Regions from separate parts of the Homo sapiens genome. Here region 1 is linked to region 2. Evidence: promoter capture Hi-C in 16 types of primary human blood cells and fetal thymus (Javierre and others, 2016). All regions are on one chromosome and are shown on one strand. The core of a region is centred on a gene start or on the middle of the fragment in contact, and the rest is flanking DNA. Distances in the headings are between cores, read along the strand shown.

Region 1 (5,535 bases), core at 2,970-5,469, 840 kb before region 2:
TGTAACCTATCTTCATGTATTCTCTTCCTCTCCCTTTAGGTTCATCTTCTTACTGTTCTTCACCGATGTCCTGTACTTTCAGCCTCTGTACCTTTGGTCATTTCTGTACCATTCATCCTTTCTTGCCTTTTAATGTCATTTTTATCAGTCTAAAACCCTATGACTTCTCAAGGACCATCTCAGAGTCTGTCTCTTATGTGAAAGTTAAACTGAGCCTCATACCTGAAAGTAATCTCTTTCATAAACAAACTTTTTTGAGCTTATCCTGCTTGGGTTTTGCTAAGCTTCCTGGATCTGTAGGTGGATATTATTTATCATGTATGAAACATTTTGGCCACTATTTTAAAAATAATTGTTTTCTGCCACCACTTTCTCTCCTCTATGTTGAAGACTCCAATGATATGTGTGCTAGGTGGCTTGATATTGTTTGGGAGTTCCCTGAGACCTCTTCCAGTTTTTGTAGTTGTTTAGCTTTATTTTCCTCTCTCTTGTTTTGACAGTTTCTGTTGTCCTGATTTCCTGTTCATAGACATTTCTCCTATAGTGTCTACTCCAACTTAAGCTTATCTAGCAAAATTTTCATTTCAGATATTTTTCAGATCTAGAAGTTCTATTTAGCTTTTTTATAGTTTCTGTTTCATTCTTCATTATGTTGTGTTTCACTATAAATCCTTGAACATATTTAATAATAGCCATTTTAGTATATTAGCCATTTATAAGTCCCATTATTTTAATTTACCATCTCTGCCATTTCTGGGTTGATTTCAATTGCCTAATATTACTACTTAGCATAGACACATTTTCCAGCTTTTAAGTATATCCCATAATTTCTGACTGGATGCTCAACATTATGAATGTTACTTTTTTATTATCTGAATTTTGTTTTCTTCTCTCAAAGAGTGTTGAGCTTTATTCTAGTGGGCAGTTGACTTGCTTGCAGGTCAACTTGTCTGCTTTTCCTTTCAAGGGCTCTTTTAAGCTTTGTTAGGGTTAATGGACGGTAGACTTATTCTATGCCATTTGAGTCCTACTCTAAGTTATGGGCTTCCTGGGATACCTGTTCAATGTTCCAGGTATTCAACAAAGCTATTCTGATGGCTCAGAGCTGTATCTCTCTCAGCCTCGACCAAGATCTAGTAATTATTCATACTGTAGTTCACCAGCAGTTGTTAATTCTCCAGTACTTATTCTTTGCCTGCCCCTGTGGAGTTTCACCCAATGGATGCCAGCTTAGTATTTACCCAAAGACTCAATGAGACCTCATGAAAATTGCGGGGCTCTTTCCGTGCATGGCCTCCTCTTCTCTGAGCTGTGTCCTCAGCTCAGTAAGAATTTCAGGGTGCCATGCTCTGCTTGGGTCCCTCTTGTTTGTACAGTAACCCAGGAAATTCTGGGTAGAAAACGGAAATGATCACAGCACGCACCTCATTTGTCTCCTTTCACTTATGGATCACAGTTTTGTGCCATCTCTTGTCCAATATTAGAAAACAATTATCTCACGTATATTGCCCAGTTTTCTAGGTGTTTATTATTGGAGGGTATAATGGATTGAATTATACCCACCATCCCCCCAGAAAAAGATATGTTGACATCCCAACCCTCAGTACCTCAGAATGTGACTCTGTTTGAAAATAGGGTCATTGCAAGTGTGACTAGTTAAGATGAGGTCATACTGGAGCACTGTGGACTCCTAATATGACTGATGTACTTGTAAGAAGACAGCCGTGGGAAGACAGAAACACACAGGGAAAATGCCATGTAATGCCAAAGGCAGAGTTTAAAGTTATGTAGCTGCAAGTTAAGGAATGTCAAAATTTGCCAGCAAATCAACAGAAGCTAGGAATAGGCAAGGAAGAATTTCCTTCCAGGTTTCAGAGGAAGCATAGCTCTGTTGATACCTTGATTTTAGACTTCTAGGCTCCAGAACCATGAGACAATAAATTCTGTTGTTTTAAGTCACCCAGTTTGTGGTACTTTATTACAGCAGCTCAAGGAGAATTACAAAGTGGATGGATTGAGTACAAGTTCCTTCATCGTAAGTGGAAGCAGAAGTTCCTAACTCTTTTAGTATTTGTCATCTGAACTACTTTTCTATCTTTTACCTCCTCCAATAGATAAGTTATTAGAAGGCAAATATTGCTTCTTGATTTTTTGTTTTCCGTCTATCTAAGCTTGAATTTTATGTGCACGTAAGGTAGATGTGAAATTCATGGGCATCAAATATGGGTGGGTAAAATATAATTTTGTTTTCTATAATTAAAATTATTCTATATCTAGATCCTTGTTGCATTGGGGTACACATGATTAATTCAGGGGTTTCTCAGACAATTCATGCTTGTCTCCCTTTCCTTTTCTCCCCGGGTAGTGTCTAAATTCCAGGGTGCTTATAAAAGCGCTTGTCAAAGCATTGTGGGGAAGGTACTTGGTCTTTGGTCATCATTTAACTTTCCTTCATGACTCTCATTTGCACCATCATCAGCACCTGTCCCCACTGATATCTGCTGATCCTCGGTGTGTCTGTCTGTCTGTCCTTCAGGTTGTTTTGATCCACGGCGGGTACACTGTGCCTTACACATTTCAAACACGATGTCTCTTCAGGCTTGATGGCTTCTCTCAGTTAATCTGTTTCCCTGTGAATGAGAAAATGGCTATTCCTGATCTATCCTGAGATCTTTGGGGATTCTTGGAGACTACCTCAGGTCCCTCTGTTAAGACACATTCTAGAGCCATGTATGTTTTCCACTGCTGCTCTAATAAATTACTACAGACTTAGTGGCTTAAAACAACACAAACTTATTATCTTACAGTTCTGTAACTCTGAAGTCTGACACAGGTTTCACCGAGTTAAAATCAAGCTGTCAGCTAGGCTGCATTCTTCCCTGAGGGCTCTAGAAGAGAACCCATTTCCTTACCTTTCCTAGCTTCTAGAGGCCACCTTCATTCCTTAGCTCATGCCCCCTTCTACCTCCAGGGCCAGCAGCATGGCATCTCTCTTGCCTGCTTCCATGTCCACATCTCTTTCTTTGACTCTCTTCTGCTTCCTTCTTCCATGTTGAAGATGCTTGTGATTGTATGGGGCACACCTGATTAATTCTGACTACTCTCCCTGTTCTAAGGGCATCCAATTAGAAACCTTAATTCCATCTTCAACCTTAATTCCCCTTTGCCATGTAATCTAACACATGCACAGATTCTGGGGATTAGAATGTGGACATCCTTGGGAGCCATTATTCTGCTGACCACAAGTCATTTCTACTTACCAGTCTCTAGCCAGTATGACATGTAGGGACCCAGGACCTTGTTCGTCTCATTCTGGAAATAAGCACAATTTTCCTCTGCCGTCAAAACTTTTGAATTTCCATTTCTTCTCTCTCCACCTCTCTCTCATCCCTTTCCTTGATCAGGATGTGGATAAGAAGAGGTAAGTCACAATTCAGGGCATTCAGGAGCATCTAATTGGCTGACTCTCCCTTCTTTCCATTAGCCCAGGTAATTTTTAACTCTTCTGTAGAGGAACAAATAGGCTTTGCAAGTATCTTCCATTCCTATTATATAGGAATATATACCAGTTTTAAAATTAAAAAGACGAGTTAGTTCTTATTGCCATTCTCTTCATGTATAAAGCTTTCTCTTGTTGGCAGCAATTCATTAAGAATCTAGTATGGAGGGAAAAAGCTGAAGATGGTAACAAAAAGACTTGAAAAGAGGCTTGCCAGAGAGGTGGACACGTTAAGATGACCAGGACATGTTAAGATGACAGTTCCAGCCAGCTTTCAATTCCGTAGGGCACCTCCAGACCCAGGCCAGATGTGCGGCCAGGACTCTCCCATTAGTAGATCTACTGCCACAGAGCAGAGGGATCATATCCCCATCCTCTTTTCAATACATGAATGACTTAAATGATTGAATAACTAAACAGTATTGCAGATGGGGATGGAGATTGAGGAGATTTTTTTAAAGGCATCAGCCATATGGAAGGAGCTTCCAGCTACTGAGCTGTGACAATGATCAGGAGCCAGGAGCCAGCTGGTTACTCTGATCTGACTGATACATCTCTTCACCCTCCAATCTGCTGCAGCATCTCTAAGAAGGAGGATTACATTGCTGTCTACATGTGGTAATGACACTGAGCTGATGCAGCTGATGAGTGAAGTCAGGTCTCATAGGATACGCTGGTGTTAAAGACTGCCAGCCAGAGGAAAACGTGATGCGGTACCCTTGAGAACAAGAGCAATTCTCATTCTTTCTCCCTGTATCTCCCACCACCCACTGTCCACTTTCTCTCCACCCCATCCCCACTCAGGACTAAATAAAAATTTCAAAAGCAAAGAGGAAAGAGAACAGAAATGGAAAGAAAGGGAGGAATAGGCTATGTGTGCACATATTTATTTTGGCTTCACTCTCTGCAATCCTAACATGCACAGATATTATATTATCAGATTTATTAAAAACTGAGATTGAACAACTGTTCAATGAAAACTGCTCTTGCGTTGGCTATAGCTATTTTTCATCATATGTTCCAAATGTTCACTGCAAGCAAACTATATTTACCACTTGATTTATCATTTAAATAAATGTTATAAGAGGATTAATTCCATTTTGAAATGATAAAAAACAAAACATTCCCCTATACATATGGTGTATTCAAATGCAAACAAAAAAATGTGCTACAGCCAAAACTGTCAGAAGCAAGAACCCCAACATTAACTTGGAATTGTGTTACTGTAGCATCAGCAACAACAACAAACATATGACATCACTAGGCCCTGATGAAATGGGAAAGTGTTACAAATGCTTTATTTGCTTAAAGCTTATTCTCCCTGTTCAGCCACTTTTACGGCTTTCTTTCCTGGGTTTTCATCTCAAACCGCTCCACCACATCCAACCCAAACTAAGTAATTGTTCTGAATATGAATCCTTCAGAATACAGAGCATGGCAAAGACAGAGGGAAGAGGAGTTTCCAAGGGTGTGCTGGTGTCCTCCAGGCATCTGAAGGTCTTTTGTCCCATTTCAGCAGAATGACATTTTAGCAGCTACCTAGCAGAGTCCCATGCTTAGCTATTATGAATCCTTACTATTATGAATTCGTGGCTTGACTGTGTTTTTTGTGGCTCGTGATCCCTTCAGCCCCTACCTTCCACCCCATGCCATTGTAAATCTCCCAATCTTTGCTGCAGACATAGGGAGTCAAAAAAAAAAAAAAAAAAAAAAAAAAAAAAAAGCCAACATATGTAAGAGTGCCTGCCTGCAGTGCACCAGGCAAAATGCATCTTTCAACAATTTTTAGATATTGTCATCATTATTTTCACTTTATAGATAAGAAAATTGAGAATCAGGGTTTGCTTGAGAGTTCCCAAGCCAGCAAGAAGCAGAGCTGTGAAATGAACCCAAATCCATATGATTCCAAGTCTCTGTGATGTTTCCTATTACTCATATTGCATTTAGAGGATAAATTAGATCTAGTTGGCCCATTAGAGACACATGGAGCAGATTCCAACTTTGATCAGTTCAGGAGTTAATTATGCCTGTCCAGG
Region 2 (5,277 bases), core at 1,409-3,908:
CGCCACCTGGTGGGAGCTGTTAAATAGCGATGGGGGAGGACTCGGTTGCTGGGGAGCTGGAGCTTCCTGGAAAAGCTGGAGTCCATTGCTTTGCCCGATTATTTGGGGAGATTGGAGGTGCAGAGACTCCTCCTAGGTCTGTTGTTTCCCACCTGTCTCGCTGTCCTAGGAATTCCGGCAGGGGGAGAACAGGAGATAGCCAATCACGGGGGAAGAATGGGAGATAGCCAATCACTAGTTACTTTATATTGTAATCACACGGTAGTGGAAGAAGTCGCCCTCCAGCCTCACCTGTGGCTACAAGCCAGCCACGCGGGCCTCCCCTCTCCCCGTGAAAGCACCGAGCTCCTTCCTGCCTCATCGACTTCCTGGGTGCCATTTCATCTGTTTTGAGTGCTGTTGATGATGGCCACTGCCAGTGTTTCCTATTGACACTACCCCAATTGTATGTTTCCTGTCCGTTGTCTCTCCCCCAACATTGTTTCTTTCAGTTCACTCCGCTATCTGAAGTCATCTAGTGGTGTTTTTCCTCTAAAGTAAGGTATGGCTTACTTTAAGCTTTATGGCTTTAAGGCTGTGCTCTTTCAGTTCCTCTAATACGCCTTTGTTTACCAGTGTGTCCTCAATGCCCATTACAACAGGTGGAATATATTTTGCTCTTAATAAACATATATTGGTATGTCCATTTCTCTAGTCATTGGAAACATCTAAGCAAGGTATTTTAAGGGAATGAGGTTTGATATTACTAATAATAGTGTTCTTCTGTCAAGCTAACAAAGACCAATTTTTAAAAATCAATCCAAAGAATGTAATTCCAATCTCCAAAAATAAATGGCAGCAAAAGTCGAAACACCAATTTATATAGGTTAAGAATTTTTAACATCTGTTTAGTTGCAAAATCCAGGGACTAAGATTTTTTTAATTACATCTGATAAAGATGTAGTCACTGACTTATATCACTACTAATAACAAATAAGGAGCTTTTGTGTTCCTACCACTGCTCTTACTGGCATTGCAGTTGACTTTACTGTTTTTAGCTTCCTGAGTAAACCATTTTTCAAAAAATAGCCAATAGCTAAGGACTATCTGCAAAGGAGATTACTTAGATAATCCCAAACACTGTGTGTACATAAGTCAAATGGAGGGGGTGTATCAATGAAGGTTTGTGTTACCTTTCTCTGAAAGAGCCCTTGATTATTGAAAAATTAAGATTGGATCTGGTGTTCCAAGAAATAACATAAAGAACTTTATTTTTTAATAAAAGATTATAATCTTGATATAAATGGTTCTAACTGTATAGTTATATATCTCTGCTTGTGCAGTAGAGCAAGTTTCTACCTAGACTTTTTAGGGAGGCAAACATCTTTTCTAAACACCTTTAGTGCAACACCGCCACCTGGTGTGGTGAAGACAAGGAGAAAATTAGCTTAAGTTGAAAGTGCAGAATTCTGTGTTTGACACTCTGTAAGCATGAATGACCCAAATGAAGTGGTCACAAACACAATTAATTAAATACAACTGCTACATCATGATGCACAAATAAGGACTACATAAATATCTGCGTATGAACAGTTCAGAATAAAACAAAAGTGAACATCTTTAGTAATCACTGACTTATGTCACTACTAATAATAAAAAAGGAGCTTTAGTCAAAAGAAAACATAAAAAATACAAAGAGAAAGTATCGAAAAACACCAATGGGGCAGCACCAATAACTCTTAAAGGATTTATCGGGGGAAATTCACTCATAAGTGGCAGTTGAACAATGAGAACACATGGACACAGGGAGGGGAACATCAAACACCAGGGCCTGTCAGGGGGTAGGGGGCAAGGGGAAGGAGACCATTAGGAGAAATACCTAATATAGATAACGGGTTGATGGGTGCAGCGAACCACCATGGCAGGTGTATGCCTATGTAACAAGCCTGCATGTTCTGCACATGTACCCCAGAACTTATACTAATTAAAAAATAAACATAATAATAATCCAAACCAGCTATGCCCCCTTTCCTCTCCCTTCATGACAGCGTGCTAGTCTTGTTCATGTTAATATTCTCCTTGCCAGGCACAGTGCCTGGCATAATAATGATGATTGCATGAAACCTTTGGCAACAGCAAATAAAACTGCAATCATACACTGACACATGGAAAGGAACCATGCATTTATCTATATTAAAAACACAGTCTGTGATAAGAGTCATTACTTCACAGATGAGAGAAGGAATGCAAATGAAAAGAGACTCTATTTCAAACCTTAGATCACCAAGAATATCTGCTTTGCCTGCTGCAGGGTGCCTCAAAACCCATAAGCAAATCCTGTTCTCTTCGCCACCCCCACAGGTCCAGATGGGCATGCAAAACTGGATTGGGGAAATTGAGGCCCTGTTTTGTTTGCATCCGTGATGCTGTGCTATGGCCTTCTGGGAAGGCGGTTGTACAGGAACACCTGGATTTATTAATCTTGCATCACCCAAGAGGTAGAACCATCAGTCTTCCACCCTATGATAAGCTCTTACGTGTATCCAAGAGATGTTCTAGAGAAACAACATCCCTCTAAGTTTCCTGCCAGAACTTTTTATGCGCTCGCTTTGGGATAGATCTAGGCAAAGAGCTGGATGCTTTGTGAAGGAAAGGTCCTGGCTTGGAACGTACATTTACCTTTCTGCACTGGGTGGCAACCAGGTCTTTAGATTAGCCAACTAGAGAAGAGAAGTAGAATAGCCAATTAGAGAAGTGACATCATGTTGACTCTAACTCGCATCCGCACTGTGTCCTATGAAGTCAGGAGTACATTTCTGTTCATTTCAGTCCTGGAGTTTGCAGTGGGGTTTCTGACCAATGCCTTCGTTTTCTTGGTGAATTTTTGGGATGTAGTGAAGAGGCAGGCACTGAGCAACAGTGATTGTGTGCTGCTGTGTCTCAGCATCAGCCGGCTTTTCCTGCATGGACTGCTGTTCCTGAGTGCTATCCAGCTTACCCACTTCCAGAAGTTGAGTGAACCACTGAACCACAGCTACCAAGCCATCATCATGCTATGGATGATTGCAAACCAAGCCAACCTCTGGCTTGCTGCCTGCCTCAGCCTGCTTTACTGCTCCAAGCTCATCCGTTTCTCTCACACCTTCCTGATCTGCTTGGCAAGCTGGGTCTCCAGGAAGATCTCCCAGATGCTCCTGGGTATTATTCTTTGCTCCTGCATCTGCACTGTCCTCTGTGTTTGGTGCTTTTTTAGCAGACCTCACTTCACAGTCACAACTGTGCTATTCATGAATAACAATACAAGGCTCAACTGGCAGATTAAAGATCTCAATTTATTTTATTCCTTTCTCTTCTGCTATCTGTGGTCTGTGCCTCCTTTCCTATTGTTTCTGGTTTCTTCTGGGATGCTGACTGTCTCCCTGGGAAGGCACATGAGGACAATGAAGGTCTATACCAGAAACTCTCGTGACCCCAGCCTGGAGGCCCACATTAAAGCCCTCAAGTCTCTTGTCTCCTTTTTCTGCTTCTTTGTGATATCATCCTGTGCTGCCTTCATCTCTGTGCCCCTACTGATTCTGTGGCGCGACAAAATAGGGGTGATGGTTTGTGTTGGGATAATGGCAGCTTGTCCCTCTGGGCATGCAGCCATCCTGATCTCAGGCAATGCCAAGTTGAGGAGAGCTGTGATGACCATTCTGCTCTGGGCTCAGAGCAGCCTGAAGGTAAGAGCCGACCACAAGGCAGATTCCCGGACACTGTGCTGAGAATGGACATGAAATGAGCTCTTCATTAATACGCCTGTGAGTCTTCATAAATATGCCTCTGATTCTTCAGGAATACAACTCTGATTCCTCACAAAGCCTTCCAATTTCTTCTATAAAACACAATTGAAAGTCTCTCCACTTTGTATCAATGAACTCACTTATAGATGAATAAAATAATTAAGCACTATACATGGCCTAGGCAAGAATAATGTTGGTACCCTAGGTTTGTTTTGATAAAATGAACAAAATAATTAAGTATTTGGTGTAAATCCTTTATATACTATAGCTTATTATTGGTATAAATCAAACCATGAGAAATCATCTCTTCTGAAATAATATCTAAATCCCAAGATAATATGTTTGGCTTTTAACATGACTGTTAAACCTCTTTCTCGGAACTTGTGCTAGCATCATTTTTGGAAATATTCACTACTACAATAAGGATATAATCCTCTTCAAACTTCGCAATTTTCATGGAAACAAAGACAAACTTGGAATGATAATTATGTCATAATTCCAGCTTCAAGAGGTACCACATAACTTCAACTTCAAGAGGCACGAGAGGATAGGGGTCGTTTTGTCTGAAAATACACTGATCCAGAAATGCACTTTTACCTACTCTATAATGATGGAAGAGAAGCAGATATTTGCTCAGTAGGTGACCTGGATGCCAGTAGGTGCCCTGTGTGGGCTTTCTGGCTATGCCCAATTTGCCTTTGAAGATGGTGCTTTGCCTGGTACCAAGTATTGGTCTCTCTGGTTGGAGACCCTACCAAAATCACCTAGCTGAAAGGTAAATTTGTAGAGATTTGGCATTGTCTGTATTCCTGCACAGGAACCCAGCCAGGAAGGCTTTCCTCAAATCAGGTACTGAAAGACTCAGGAGAAAACAAGGTATACCAGACATTTAAATCTTGATAGGCTTCGTGGTTCACAGGCTTCACAGTTGTAGCAGCTCACCACCAAGGCTCTTAGTTCTGCCAGCTGTGGGGCCAGAGAACTGTTTCCTCCTCTCAGGCACTTGGTCTTAATAGATCCAGATCTTCACCTCAGTTTTCCTCCAAAAATTAGCCATTTCTTCACCTGCAGTGGCTACAAAATTTGCAACTTCATCTGGCTTCCTTTCCTTGGTGGACACTGAAGTTGTCCCAGGATTCCCTTAAAGACCTAGGTCCTCGCTCTTGGCTGCACATTGAAATTATCTAAGGGGCTTTTTAAAAATCTCAATGTCCAGGCCAAATACAACCAATCAAATCAAATCTCTTGAGATGAAATGAGGCTTTTATTCTTTAATGCTCCTCAGGTGATTTCGGGGTGCAGCCAATGTTGAGATCCACTCTTCTAGATGCCCTGTTGGTGTAGAGGTGGAGCATCTTTTCATATGTTTATTTGTATGGCTTTATTTTTAACATTATGTTTCTGAGATTCACCCATAATATTATATGAGTCACTGCTTGCTTACCTACTCACTATTGCTGAACATTTTCCATTGCCTACAGTGTGGGGCTACTATGAATAAAGTTTCTATACACAT

What was found. Contacts are between HindIII fragments. The CHiCAGO score rates a contact against its expected background, and 5 or more counts as called.
Region 1: a contact is called between a fragment that was not itself captured here and the fragment with the promoter of TAS2R38 in region 2, in 2 of 17 cell types (fetal thymus and total CD4 T cells). The highest score is 8.4, in fetal thymus.

What each region holds. Positions count from the first base shown.
Region 1 is chr7:142,813,851-142,819,385 of GRCh38, reverse strand. It overlaps LOC105375541 (a long non-coding RNA gene), which reads right to left and starts at 5,189. Exons shown (of 2, transcript XR_001745392.2): 1 at 3,261-5,189; 2 at 1,950-2,630. The HindIII fragment of the contact is 1,186 bases long and covers 3,627-4,812 here.
Region 2 is chr7:141,971,154-141,976,430 of GRCh38, reverse strand. TAS2R38 (taste 2 receptor member 38) reads left to right here and starts at 2,658. Exons shown (of 1, transcript NM_176817.5): 1 at 2,658-3,800. The coding sequence starts at 2,742. The coding sequence ends at 3,743. The HindIII fragment of the contact is 7,298 bases long and covers 561-5,277 here.